4 separate regions of the Homo sapiens genome follow, and all the other regions are linked to region 4. Evidence: promoter capture Hi-C in 16 types of primary human blood cells and fetal thymus (Javierre and others, 2016). All regions are on one chromosome and are shown on one strand. The core of a region is centred on a gene start or on the middle of the fragment in contact, and the rest is flanking DNA. Distances in the headings are between cores, read along the strand shown.

Evidence for each region. The method cuts DNA at HindIII sites, captures the fragments that hold promoters and counts their contacts. A CHiCAGO score of 5 or more calls a contact.
Region 1: a fragment that was not itself captured here is called in contact with the fragment with the promoter of SAMD13 in region 4 in 4 of 17 cell types (M2 macrophages, M0 macrophages, M1 macrophages and 1 more); the score reaches 11.4 in M2 macrophages.
Region 2: a contact is called between a fragment that was not itself captured here and the fragment with the promoter of SAMD13 in region 4, in 2 of 17 cell types (erythroblasts and megakaryocytes). The highest score is 5.6, in erythroblasts.
Region 3: a fragment that was not itself captured here is called in contact with the fragment with the promoter of SAMD13 in region 4 in 2 of 17 cell types (megakaryocytes and M2 macrophages); the score reaches 6.4 in megakaryocytes.

The regions. Positions count from the first base shown.
Region 1 is chr1:84,413,907-84,417,372 of GRCh38, forward strand. DNASE2B (deoxyribonuclease 2 beta) reads left to right here. Exons shown (of 6, transcript NM_021233.3): 6 at 622-1,112. The coding sequence ends at 962. Among named protein-coding and RNA genes, the nearest start is that of DNASE2B, 17 kb to the left of the region's middle. The HindIII fragment of the contact is 7,103 bases long and covers 1-3,466 here.
Region 2 is chr1:84,184,689-84,187,759 of GRCh38, forward strand. PRKACB (protein kinase cAMP-activated catalytic subunit beta) reads left to right here. Exons shown (of 10, transcript NM_182948.4): 5 at 412-494. Among named protein-coding and RNA genes, the nearest start is that of PRKACB, 42 kb to the left of the region's middle. The HindIII fragment of the contact is 1,202 bases long and covers 1,091-2,292 here.
Region 3 is chr1:84,200,520-84,203,758 of GRCh38, forward strand. It overlaps PRKACB (protein kinase cAMP-activated catalytic subunit beta), which reads left to right. Exons shown (of 10, transcript NM_182948.4): 8 at 2,164-2,286. Among named protein-coding and RNA genes, the nearest start is that of PRKACB, 58 kb to the left of the region's middle. The HindIII fragment of the contact is 942 bases long and covers 1,395-2,336 here.
Region 4 is chr1:84,299,671-84,303,059 of GRCh38, forward strand. SAMD13 (sterile alpha motif domain containing 13) reads left to right here and starts at 2,038. Exons shown (of 4, transcript NM_001134663.2): 1 at 2,038-2,131. The HindIII fragment of the contact is 6,789 bases long and covers 1-3,043 here.

The DNA of each region.
Region 1 (3,466 bases), core at 287-2,786, 110 kb after region 4:
ATTCAGTCAGTTCCAGATCCTTAATAACACTCACATGTATTGTATCTTCTCCAAACTCTTTGCCACTGCCATGGGTCACACCTGTGTTTATTGACACAGTTATTATGACAGCCTTATGTTTTTCCTTTCTTCTTTCTAACCTGTCCTTCCCAATTCATCCTGCCCATTGCCTCTCAACTGATATTTATGATCATAAACCAGTTTCTATTAATTCTTTACTAACATTCCTTTAAAAACTCTCCACTGATTTCAGGAAAATCCAAACACTTTGGCATGATTTACAAAGTTCCCTAGAAACTGGCCCTAATTCCTTCTCTAGACTAATTTTTTCCAAAGGTCTTTCCAGGACAAAGACATATATTGCTTCATTCGTTTTATAGAACAGAAGATGTTTGCAAACACCAACATCATCATAGTAATGATGATAATAACTTACATTTGCACATCACTTTAGCATTTACAAAATGTTTTCTCATCCACTATCTCAATTATGTTGTTATTATTGTGCTCGTGACATCCACATATCAGGGGTGAAAGATGATTTCCATTCCAGAGTATATTTTCAGGGACTAATCTAAGTGTAAATACCAACCTCACTATCTTTCTCCTCCTAAACCCTAGACATCTTTGCAGCCTGGATGGCTCAACGGCTGAAGACACACTTGTTAACAGAAACCTGGCAGCGAAAAAGACAAGAGCTTCCTTCAAACTGCTCCCTTCCTTACCATGTCTACAATATAAAAGCAATTAAATTATCACGACACTCTTATTTCAGTTCTTATCAAGATCATGCCAAGTGGTGTATTTCCCAAAAGGGCACCAAAAATCGCTGGACATGTATTGGAGACCTAAATCGGAGTCCACACCAAGCCTTCAGAAGTGGAGGATTCATTTGTACCCAGAATTGGCAAATTTACCAAGCATTTCAAGGATTAGTATTATACTATGAAAGCTGTAAGTAAACTTGGTGAAAGGACACAGGTACTATCATTGAAAACCTTGACAATGGGTCTTCTTCCATTACACCTTCTTTATATTTTAAAGGCCTGTGAATATACTTATAACCTGCATATCACAAAATAAAACATTTTTCTCTCATGTTTACCATTTAATCTTCTATTTAATGGTAATTTATTTACTTTGCACTATATATCATAGACATAAACCATTATACACAACTGAGAATAGAAGAAATAAAAAGAAAAATATTTTTCCACATTAGTCAACTCCAATTGTTTATGGATTGACTGGCCACCTAGTAGATTACATTTCCTCTCCTTCACAAAGACTTCCCTGACTCTCTTCCCCACCCTTTTTTGAAGAAAAGCAAATAACTCTCTCTGCGTATTCTTCCATACTATTTGATCATATTGCTCCTAAAGTTCTTTCTCACTGGTTTATGGTTAAGACTTATTTGTCATTCTTTCAGCTACTACTTACTAATTGGATGATCTTGAGCCATTCACTTGGATTCTCTGAACCTTGTTTTTTTTAATCTATGAAAGGGAGATAATAGCTAGGTATGTTCAAGTACCTAGCACAGAGCCCGGCACATAGATGACACTTAAAAATAATGGTGGCATTTGAGTTTGAATTCCAGCAAAAAAAAAAACAAATAAGTTTCAGAAATGAGTGATATTTTACAAGAAGAATGTTAAAGTCACATTAGGAGAAAAAAAACTGCATAAGTGTGACTCATCAACTTGAAGGAAATAAAGAAGTGTAACATAATGAAACCAGAATCAAATGCAATAGTCTTTTTTTTTTTTAATAATAGAGATGAGGTCTTGCTTTGTTGCCCAGGCTGGTCTTGAACTGGGCTCAAGCAATCCTCCCACGTTGGCTTCCCAAAGTGCTGGGATTACAGGAATGAGCCACTGCACCCAGCCAAATGCAATAATCTTAATTTCAATGTGTTTCTTTTTCTGGCATTCTTATCACTACTTGTAACTGTTATATAAATGGATAATAATAAACTTGTGTTAAGTACTAATTGCTTAATAATATTTGACATATGTGTTGTTCACAATTTCAAGCAGCTTACAACCTAGAAAAAGTAATCACAACAATAATAAAGCTAGCGCTTACTGAACACTTACTATGTAATAAGTATTCAACTCATAGTAATTCAGGATTCATTACAATTTTTTTTTTTTTTTTTTTTGAGACAGAGTCTCGCTCTGTTGCCCAGGCTGGAGTGCGGTGATGCGATCTCGGCTCACTGCAAGCTCTGCCTCCAGGGTTCACGCCATTCTCCTGCCTCAGCCTCCCGAGTAGCTGGGAATACAGGTGCCTGCCACCACGCCTGGCTAATTTTTTGTATTTTTAGTAGAGACGGGGTTTCACTGTGTTAGCCAGGATCGTCTCAATCTCCTGACCTCACGATCCACCCGCCTCGGCCTCCCAAAGTGCTGGGATTACAGGCGTGAGCCACCGCGCCCGGCCGATTAATTACATTTTTATTTAATCTTCATAACAATTCTATGTAGTAGGAACTGTTATTATCCCCATTTTACTGACAAGGAAATTGAGGCCTACAGAGTTTTAGGAACTTGCCTAGTATCATAGAGGTCCATCTTACCTCTGAGGCTATCGATCTTAATATCTCAATACCAACCAAAATTCATGGCACTAGTTCAATGACAAACAGAGAAAAAACTAACTTGGTTTTCCTGTCAGGAGCAAGCATAAACTATGTTGTATGCTATCTAGCTAACTAACATTCTTGCAAATATAAAGAGGCCTGAAAAAAATTATTTGGCCTCTGAGAGAGCATCTGAGGCCAAAAAAGCATAAGTAATCCAAATAATATAAGAGAAAAATTTTAAAGTACAAGATCCTGACTTTAAAAGTAAAGAGGGCCAAAACTTGATCCAATGGTAAATAGAGAGATGAATGAAAAGGCAAAAAAAAAAAAGCAAAAGTGAAGAAATTCTATTGGACTGAAAATACATAATAGGTAGGAGCCTTCTCCCCTGAATCTGAAGGAGAGGAGAATCATAATTAGATTCGTGTAATTAAGAGTGTAGGAGTATAACAAAGAAAAAGAACATGCTGGCCCACTGGAGACACACATTACGGATGTGCTGAAGGGGAAATAGGAAGTGGCCAGACTCTCCTTGAGGAAGAAAAAAATGCTGGAAAGGAATTGAACAGTCCTGGTAGCTCAAGAATACCTAATACTTACCGTGGTAGGGGTGTTGGTATATTTTGGTGATGGTAACTCCTTGTTGTAGAACCTAAAGGCAACCACAGTAAACCAAAGAGGGCTAATCTTTCTCAGGCATATGCCCAGGACGGCTACCCAGTCATGCTGATACCTGCAGGGAGACTGAGGAACTATCTTTGGGAATAATATCATTGGAGGGAAACTGATATATTTTAGAAAACGGGATAATTTTATTGATTCCCTTTAGGAAAAACGAGGAGAATATGGGAGATATTAATGAATGAAATTTAAGTTCTA
Region 2 (3,071 bases), core at 442-2,941, 120 kb before region 4:
TTAAATTAAATGAAGACCTATGTATTTAAAATATTAAAACCATTAATCTTTTATACATAAAATGTAAATATTCTTATTAACTTTTTAAATTGTTTTTTACCTTTGTTATTCTTTTGCATATATTATAACGTTACTTCATTGCCTGAGTATTTAATTGTTTGAGAACTAGATGTTCTCTGCAAGAAAAGGAAGAGCAAAAGTCCCAGACTAGTTTGTGGCAAAAATAACTAGGAGGGGAAAAATATGAGTGTCTCTGTATAGAAAAGCTAGAGCATGTTCCATTTATTCTTTATTTCTCAAGGTTATTAATCTGTCAGAGAGATTTTAAATTTTTCTAATTCAGCATTATATAATATTAAAATAATTTTGACCTAAGTTGAATAATTGTATTTCCTTTTTATTTGTTCATAGGATAATTCTAATTTATACATGGTTATGGAATATGTCCCTGGGGGTGAAATGTTTTCACATCTAAGAAGAATTGGAAGGTTCAGGTAACTAATGGTTTTGCTTTCTTCAAATCTTTATATGCTTGTGTTGTTTAACCAGATTTTTAAGTTGATGCCAATGCCAAAAACTTATTTTGTTTGATTAATATTTTGGCCATATGAAGCATTAGGTGGAAACAAAGAGGCCACATCATACACAAGTTTTAATATAAAGAATATAAAAATTTAATATAAAAAAAGGACTTTGAAGCCAATTTAAATGTTATACTACTGCTAGATATTGTGAGGGTCCACTACTTGAAGAGTTTTCAGAAAATGGAAAAATTAATTGAATTTTAAAATATCAATATTTATTAAACAAAGATTAATAATACAACTCCAGGACAGAGGATTGTTTTAAGGATGAAGATGGAAAATAAATATATAGAGAAATAATAATAATAGTATTATGGTAATAAGATTATAAAAGTTTGTTTTTCACAAATTTAATTCTCCTTAAAGTTCTTGCTAAGTTTAGTTTTTAAAATATACACATAATTTAACGGGAGTTTGTACCTCATCAGGTTATGACTAATAAGATCTCAGAGTTATTAAAATAGGTTATAGAATCTGATGGTTTTACCTGTACTTAATAGTTTATAAGCTTCTACCGTTCATTAATAATCACTAATAGAATAAAGCTAAAATAAAAAACAGGTACAGCTTCATTCAGTATAGTGTGTTGAAGTCAAAATAAAAATGTAGAGACAAATCTCTAAATTCAACATTTTATTGAGGAAGCAAGAATTGCAGTTTGAGGCATATACACAGACTAGGTGGTCTTCAATGTGTCTAGAAAACAAAGAAAAGGTTGGAGGTTTTATAAAAAGAAATTTTATGTTTATTTGTTTTGAAACAAAGTTTACTAGCACTAGTTAAGTTTTGGGGAGCTGGCAAGCTCTGATTGGTGAGTGATGGTGGTGGGTCAGACTCGTCTAAGAGTCGCAGTAGGTTGTCTCAGTAGCTGTTAGAGAAAACTGGTTTCAGGTTACAATAGGCAGTTTCAGCAACTAGACTTGTGGAAAATATAATTTTTTTGTTTGTTTTTGGTTTTTTTTTTGAGACTGAGTCTCCCTCTGTTGCCCAGGCTGGAGTACAGCGGCACCATTTCGACTTACTGCAACCTCTGCCTCCTGGGTTCCAGTGATTCTCTTGCCTCAGCCACCCGAGTAGCTGGGACTAGAGGTGTCCGCCACCACATCCGGCTAATTTTTCTATTTTTGGTAGACACAGGTTTTCACCGTGTTGGCCAGGCTGGTCTCGAACTCCTGATCTCAAGTGATCCACCCTCCTTGGCCTCCCAAAGTGCTGGGATTACAGGTGTGAGCTACCACACCTGGCCTTAATTCTTGGAGCAGGTGCTGTGTGCCCTGAGTGCGTTATTCCCTGGCCCCTCGACTCTGATTTAGTTAGGTATGATGAGAATGACTAATTTGTATAATCAGCTTTCACATTTTTCCCTTTTGATCAAGATCTTTCTCTGAAAGCATTGCTTGTCAACCATCTTGAAGTTAGGCTTAATTATTCCTTGGTGCTCGGATGGACTTGTTCTGGTTGTCTCTGTCCCACATATGAGAGAAGTTATCTGTTGGGGGGTGTCTATGTAGGGACCTGGGCCACATTCAAGTAACGAGGAGGCCAGAAGGAAAATTTTTCTCAAAGTAGATTTTTGTCTGGAGTCCAGCCAGCATCGAGTTCCCACTTATCACTTCCATAGGTATTAGCAGTCATCTTTAAGTGTTGGGCTAACGTTATTCTGTTGGGACAGCTGCCTTTACAAAGATTAGATAGGCACTAAGAACAAAGCTTACAAATGATAGTACAAAAAAATTAACAATATAGTAAAATGTATTTGTGCAGTGCTTTTGAACTAAAGCCCAGGCCTAAGGGCAAAAAACTAAAGAAATCAAAGGACCAGGGGAAACTGGTGAGACCTGCTATAGCCATTGACTAACATTTTATGACTGGGTTGAACTAAAGCAGAGAATGCCAAACTTTGCAAGAGGGACCACCAGCACAAATTAAACAAAAAATTGTGTTAAGGATATTGTCGATGTTGTGACTAGATGAACTGAAAGAATTTCTTAAGTCAGGCTTTGTCAATGGCTTTAGCAGGTCTCACCAGTACCTATAGCAGTTACTGATTGTGAATTTTAAATTACAATATTATTTGGTTAAGTGAAAAAGCAGGCATTAAGAGGGGTAAGAGTTTCATTACAATATGGAGTCTTGTTCTAGTGTTTTGAGAAAAGCTGTTCACACCATGGAAAACATCAACTTTCTTGGCTTTGTTTACAGTGTAAATGTCTCTGGCTATGGCTTTGGGCAGTTTGATGAACTTTCTGTGTGGCCCATACATCAGGCATGAGACTTGTTTCTTAAAATTTATATAGTTTCAGCTAACAGGACTTCAGGAACAGAGCGGTTCTCATTTTAGTAATTTTATGGAAGAAAGTTCGATTGGAGGAACCTAGAAGAATTTAGGACCTTGTCTAGTCTATAGGTAGATAACAAGACTCAAAAATAATGTACAGACTTACAGTCTAATAACAGGTATATTATAGTTATTCTTTAGAAAAAACT
Region 3 (3,239 bases), core at 616-3,115, 99 kb before region 4:
GGAATTGCTTTTGGTGTCTTTGTCATGAAACCTTTGTCCATTCTTATGTCCAGGGTGGCATTGCCTAGGTTGTCTTTCAAGGTTTTTATACTCCGGGGTTTTGCATTTAGGTCTTTAATCCATTTTGAGTTGATTTTTGTATATGGTATAAGGAAGGGATCTATCTTCAGTCTTTTGCATGTGGCTAGCCAGTTATCCCAGCACCATTTATTGAGTAGGGAAACTTTTCCCCATTGCTTGGTTTTGTCAGCTTTGTCAAAGATCGGGTGGTCGTAGGTGTATGGACTTATTTCTGGGTTGTCATAGTTGAAATCATAGTAAATATATATAGTCTTGTCTCTGACTTTTTTCACTTTTATAATAACAAGCATGCAAACATCATTCTAATGGCTTGTTTGTAAATGTACCATAAAATATGTAGCCACTCTTCTATCGTTGAGTGTTCAGGTTTTATTTTTGATTTTTTTATTATTATAAATAACTATGATAAACATCCTTATACATAAAAGTTTTTTCCTTATTTTACATTATTTCCTTAGCATATATTCCCAGAAGTAGAATTACTGGGTCAAGGAATAGGAACATTTTTAAGGCTTTTGATACATATTGCCAAATTGCTTTCCAAAGTTATTATGCCATTTTACACTTCTACCATTAGTGTATTATAGTGCCTATTTCATAACACTATCACTGGGTATACTCATTTTTAAAATATTTACTGATTTCATAGGCAATAAATTGTATCTCATTGTTTTAATTCTCATGTTTTTTATTTATTTTTCAAATGGTTAATAGCCATTTGGTATTTCTTTATGTGTCTGTAAATTATTAGTTCATTTCCTTGGCCCATTTATCTATTGTAATTTAACATTTTTCTTATTGATGTGTTTTGATTTCTATACCTTGGGTATTAACTTGTGTCTGACATATTTACTATAAACATTAGCACACAATTTAAACATATGAATCAAAAAGTTAAAGAGAGTTAATGCCTATTTCTATTAAAAAACAAAGTGCTATTCCTGTTATACCACTCCTTCCCTTAAAAAGATATACACAGTATCAGGAAAAAAAAGAGAAAAAGAAAATCTCTATAGCGCTAAAGTATTATATTTTTGCTAGAATTTTGAAAACTAAGTAGTTTGTAAAGCTAAAATTTTGACAAAAGGGTGGAATGTGGTGAGTCGTGATGGTAGAGGGTACCTCTGAGGGCAGAGCAATAGATCTGGGTAGAATTCAGCTTATTTCTCTTCATGACAGGTTTTTGGGGTTGTTAAAAAATCTCTTGTGTCAGTTGATACTGACCATAGTTAATAAACTATATTAGCATGTTAATATGAAGATGTTATTCTTATTTATTTTCTTATGAATACTTACAAATTTTAATTTTAGTAAGCTTAATATGAAAAAAACAAACATAACCTGTGATTTTTACATTTGGTTTGCAAAGCACTTTTTACACACGTTACTCCCTTTCATTTGATACAGTCCTCACAAAACTCTGTGAATTCATTTTTTTCCTGCATATCTTTTAGATATAGGAAGCAAGACAGTAGATAGCAGAAGTAAAGTATACCTAAATATTTACATGAATTGAATTTTACATTAAACTTTTTGCTTTCACAAAATCCTATGAAGCAGATGGGATTATCCCTAGCACATTCACCCTCCTAACTCCAAAAATATAGAGTATTTTGAAGTCAACTTCATTATTTACTATGTAGTCCAGTTTCTATTATTTTCTTTGAAAACTTTTGATCTTTCTAGGCATGCTGTGGAAAATCTGTTTCATAAGATTATGGACCTAGAGTGGGCCTTAAGAAGTAATGTGGTCTAACTGCCTTCCTGTTATTGAGCAAGAACTAAATTATACCAGTGAAATAAAGAAAATTTCATTGTCTATAATATTCTTAATAATTTTAGGAAGAAGATTTAATACTCTTTCCTAATATCCAATTTCAGTATCTGGAAATCCTCTCCTTTGTTTAATTTAAATCTGACCTGATACATTTGGTTCATTTTTAAATTCTGTCCTGAATAGCTGCTCAGCAATTGCTTTAAAAAAATTTTTATATGCTTCCAGATCATTTTGAAATTATCTTTGACTTCATTCTCTTTTGAGTAACTTAAGTAACAATTGACATTGGTGTTGGTTTATCTCAGGGCTACAATAAGGCAGTGGATTGGTGGGCATTAGGAGTGCTAATCTATGAAATGGCAGCTGGCTATCCCCCATTCTTTGCAGACCAACCAATTCAGATTTATGAAAAGATTGTTTCTGGAAAGGTAAGTAAAACATTTTATTATTCCTCTCTTATTACTGTATATGAATTTTAAGCTTCATGAATTGAAACTATATTGTGTCATAATTATTATTCTACATTGGGAAAAATATAGAAAAATCTACAGTTGCTGCTCTTACTATCATAAGAATTGAATCATTTCAGTCTCTTAAGAAAAAAAGGGCAGTTTTATAAAGAAATTAACAAAACAGTAAAGCAATTTCTGTATTTAGTATTTTTATCACAAAGAACAGGATCATAGCCATAATTCTCGATATTCCTTCAAATAAATAAAAATAGTTTATTATTTCATGTGTCTATCTTCATGGAGAAAAGTTTTAGGGGCTGTTTTATATGCCCTTCCATTTTCAGGAGAGACTTCTTGTTTTAATTATGTCCAATACTATAACATTGGAAGTAAAAGTAAATATAAAATGAATAAGCCTTTTTCAGATGGAAATTTATAGAATTGATTTTAACAGAATTGTTCATATAGATTGTGATTATACTTGTCATTGGTTTTTAGCAAACATGGAAATAACATTAATTTTTCTTCAACATGAGTAGACTTACTGTGTTGTAGTATTTTACATTTTGTAAATTTCTTCATAAACCTTCCTTCTTTTGCACTTATAACCTCTAATTTGCTTTCAAGAGTGTTTTGTTTAGGGTCAGTCATTTGCTGTTGCCTTAGCTCAGACCTCGGATCTTTTTTTAAAAGACCATTGTCAATTCAATAGAAATGAGCTTGAATTTCCTACCATGCAGCAATGAAAGAATAGGCTTTTAAACATTCCCAGAAGGAGACCTTCTATACATTAATGACAAAATATATGGGAAGGGATATTTTGCTTATTTTCCCTTCTTTCTATTTCTACATGTGGTACTGCTTTGTCTTTTCTTTTCTTTCCCACATAGTCCCATTTAGAATATGATCAGGAAATAGAGCATCAATCT
Region 4 (3,389 bases), core at 788-3,287:
ATATATTTATTTATTTATTTATTTATATTCACAAGTGTCAGTTTACTACCAAAGTTAGAAACTAGCTGGTAAGTGAAACCTGTTGTCATAATTTAGAGTGTCTTTGTGGCTCACTTTTTATAAAACGGGATTAACTTCCTACAACACTTTCTGAAACTTTACTCTTGTGTAACAGGCAAACTTTTGATCACAGCAGGCCAGATGGGAGGGGATGTCCCTTTGTATATGCAGGAAGAGATGCTTGGAAAAACTTCACAGAATCCTTTCTCCTGTGGCTGTGTCTAAGGAAGAGCTGGGTGTAACTACAGTTTCTTTGCCTTTTCCCCGTCAAGAGTGGAGAGCTGAACATGCTTTTGTTCTGAGCAGCACTGTCAGGACAACCCCAGCTCCCCAAGACACAGAACTCCCAGTCCAACTCGCTTCCAATTTGGATTTACTGGGAGAATAGTTCAGGAATTTCAGATCAAGTCCAAAAGCGTTAAGGAATCTGTTAGTGAAAGAGCTCTTTATCTACATAAAAGTCCATCATTTTGAGATCAGCACTGGTGAAAGATCCACATGCCTGACCCATGCTCAAAAAATACTGCTCAAAAATATTTAATTGGTTCCTAGATTACTATTGTTTGCCTTTTCAAGGGAGCAATGGCAAATATTTGAAATCTTTCTTGGCACTGATCTTCAAGGAAGTCAAAAATTTCTAATATAATTCCTGGAATAAGTAAAGAACAAATTTTTTGACCTTGAAATTCAGGTTCCAAATTTAGATCAAAGGTAATCTCCTAATGTCCTAAAAGATTATTTTTAAAAAGGGAAGCAGGCAGCTTTTTCCTCAGATTCTACCTGAATTCTACAGGATATTACAGCAAGTGATAACTTTTTCCAGGATCTTTCTGGGGAACCTGTGTTCTGTGCCCTGTCTTGAGTGGTTTTGTTGACCATCTTGACCTAAAAGTGTCCAAATGTTGATTGATGTTTATTTCAATGAAGAGGCAACCATGTATGTTTTCTGTGTATGTGCAGAACATTAATGGGATGAGATTATTCTCCTGGAAAAGTGGTTTAAGCCAAGCAAGGGAACTGTGAGAATGACCAGGGTAACTTAAACAAAAGATCTTGCCCAGCCTCTCTGCTCCACCTCCCAGTTTTCTGATTTGGTATTTAGGATGATGGCGGGAGAGACTATGAATTTTGGGGTGGGCATAATGTCTTTCTATTCATATGTAACTAATATAGTACCGGGTACTCATAGATTGTAAGTGTTGGTTAAATTTCTTGAATTATGCTTTTTGTCCAACTGGGATAAACAGTTAAAATTAAACCTCCCAGAACTAATTGTTTTCGTTTTGTAGAATAAGGTTTTGTTTGTTTCAGTTTGAATTTTTGCTGGCTTCATTTGGCAGGATAAATGCCAAAATAAAAGAATGTGGGCGTTTTCAGGAGATCTGGTCATCTATTTTGCATCCTTTCCGAAATATGTTACTTCCTGCATAATGAAGTAAAAGGATTTGCTGCTGGGCAGTGCTTTCCTTATTCTCACAAAGAGATTACTTAAAAGCCAGCCCTGGGAACTTTGTCCATGAATCTCTATTAGGAAAAAAAGAGTAACATGGGACTGCAGCTTCCGAGTGTTCTCTGGTTATAGCCCATAAGCACTGGCTTCTCACTCTTATTTTTCCCTCTGGGGAGAAAAGGAAATAGTTTGAAACATGACATTCATGCTCAGAACAACAGCTAAGACCTATCATGCAGCAACAATGAAGGGGAGGGAGAAAATAAGAAGCTATTGAGACAGCTTGTTTTTCTTTGTACAAGACAGGTGCAGGGAGAATTCTGCAGGTTTTGGACTCCTTACTCATTTCTTGCACTAATTGTGCTGAAGGTAGTTAGCAAAAGTGAACAGGCACACTGTAGCTTTAAAAAGTCAGCCATGAACCAGAAGGCAGTTGGTGCAGCTTGTGTGTGATTCCTAACGTCATGTTGGCTGAGAGCCAGCCTGGTTTTATTTCACTGTGTCAAATTGTACCTCCTTATTGAATTCCTTTGCCAGCCTACTTTGTGAAAGAAAACATTGGGGTTTCTTTGGCTGTTCTTGATAAGCCTATAAAAAATGATATTTTTTAGTTGCTTATAGGTAGGTTTTCTTTTTACTCTTCCACAGAAAAGAAAATAATAGTAATAATAATAAGACAATGTAGTGTGGTGTTGCAGAGTATCATTGTGAGTGTTTTGTTTTGTTTTCTGAGATGCTTAGAAAATGGTGAATGTGTAACAGTTTCCAACTGAAGTGAAATCATATTCTGTTAGCATGGAGCAGCAGCACTATCTTCCTGTCTACTCTCTAACGGTGTGTGAATGTATGCTAATATCTATATATATATATTAAATGTTGGATTTCTCTATCAATGATCTAAGTGGTTTGCAGCTGGAAGTTTGTGTGTATGTGTGTGTTTCAGGAGTGAAAATTATCCCACACTTACAGTGTTATTTGTTAATCATCTACTTCTCTAACAGTGATAAAATCTTGCGAATATACTAAATGATGCACTTGCCATGTCAGAGTAATCCCTAGAGAAGGAGTGCCGAAGTATAAAGTGATTTGAGTGGAAATGTATTTAATTTATGGCTTCAGCTGAATAAGAGCAAACACGTTTCGGGACTGTTTCTTCCTTTTTTTTTTTTTTTTTTCTTAAAGCAGTTTTGTTCGTAGCTTTTTCATTTTGCTAATTGCATATTAATTGTGGAAGGCTTTTAATTTTCCACAGCCCTCATCCTACTAAACAAAAAGACAGAGTGATGGATGCTACAATATCTCCTTAAATGTTTTGATGATTTTTCATAAATCTAATGAGTTACCTACTCTTTCTTACACATACACACACACACACACACACACACACACACACACACCAGCACCACCTTTCTGTGCTAAGGGCTATCTGGCATTTTTTGTGAGCTTCCTGCTTTACCACAGCATGGCCATCTCACAGACGGGTTTTTGAGGCTTTCGTTGAGAATGTGAGGTAGGGGAATACTTGCTGACAAAAGCTTTAAGTGTCCTTCTGCATTGCAATGAAAAAATCTAGGAGCAAGGGGGAGTGGACAAAAAAAAAACCAAACACAATAAGAAAAAACAAATCAAAGCCCATAATGGGAGGGGGGCAGGAAAAGGGGGATTGTTTTTCTCTACTTTGACTCATTTATGAGTTGCAGTGTCTTAAGTGAGAGCTAGGCACCCAGAAGAAGCTGTGCCAGTTCACACAGCACTTGTTTTCAACGAGGATTCAATTTCATTTGCAAATGCTTATTGTCAAGGCAGGGAGTGCCAGTACAGATGAAAGCACCCCAATCCGTCTCCTCCAGTTCTTTAGGTTTAATCACATCTCTCCAAT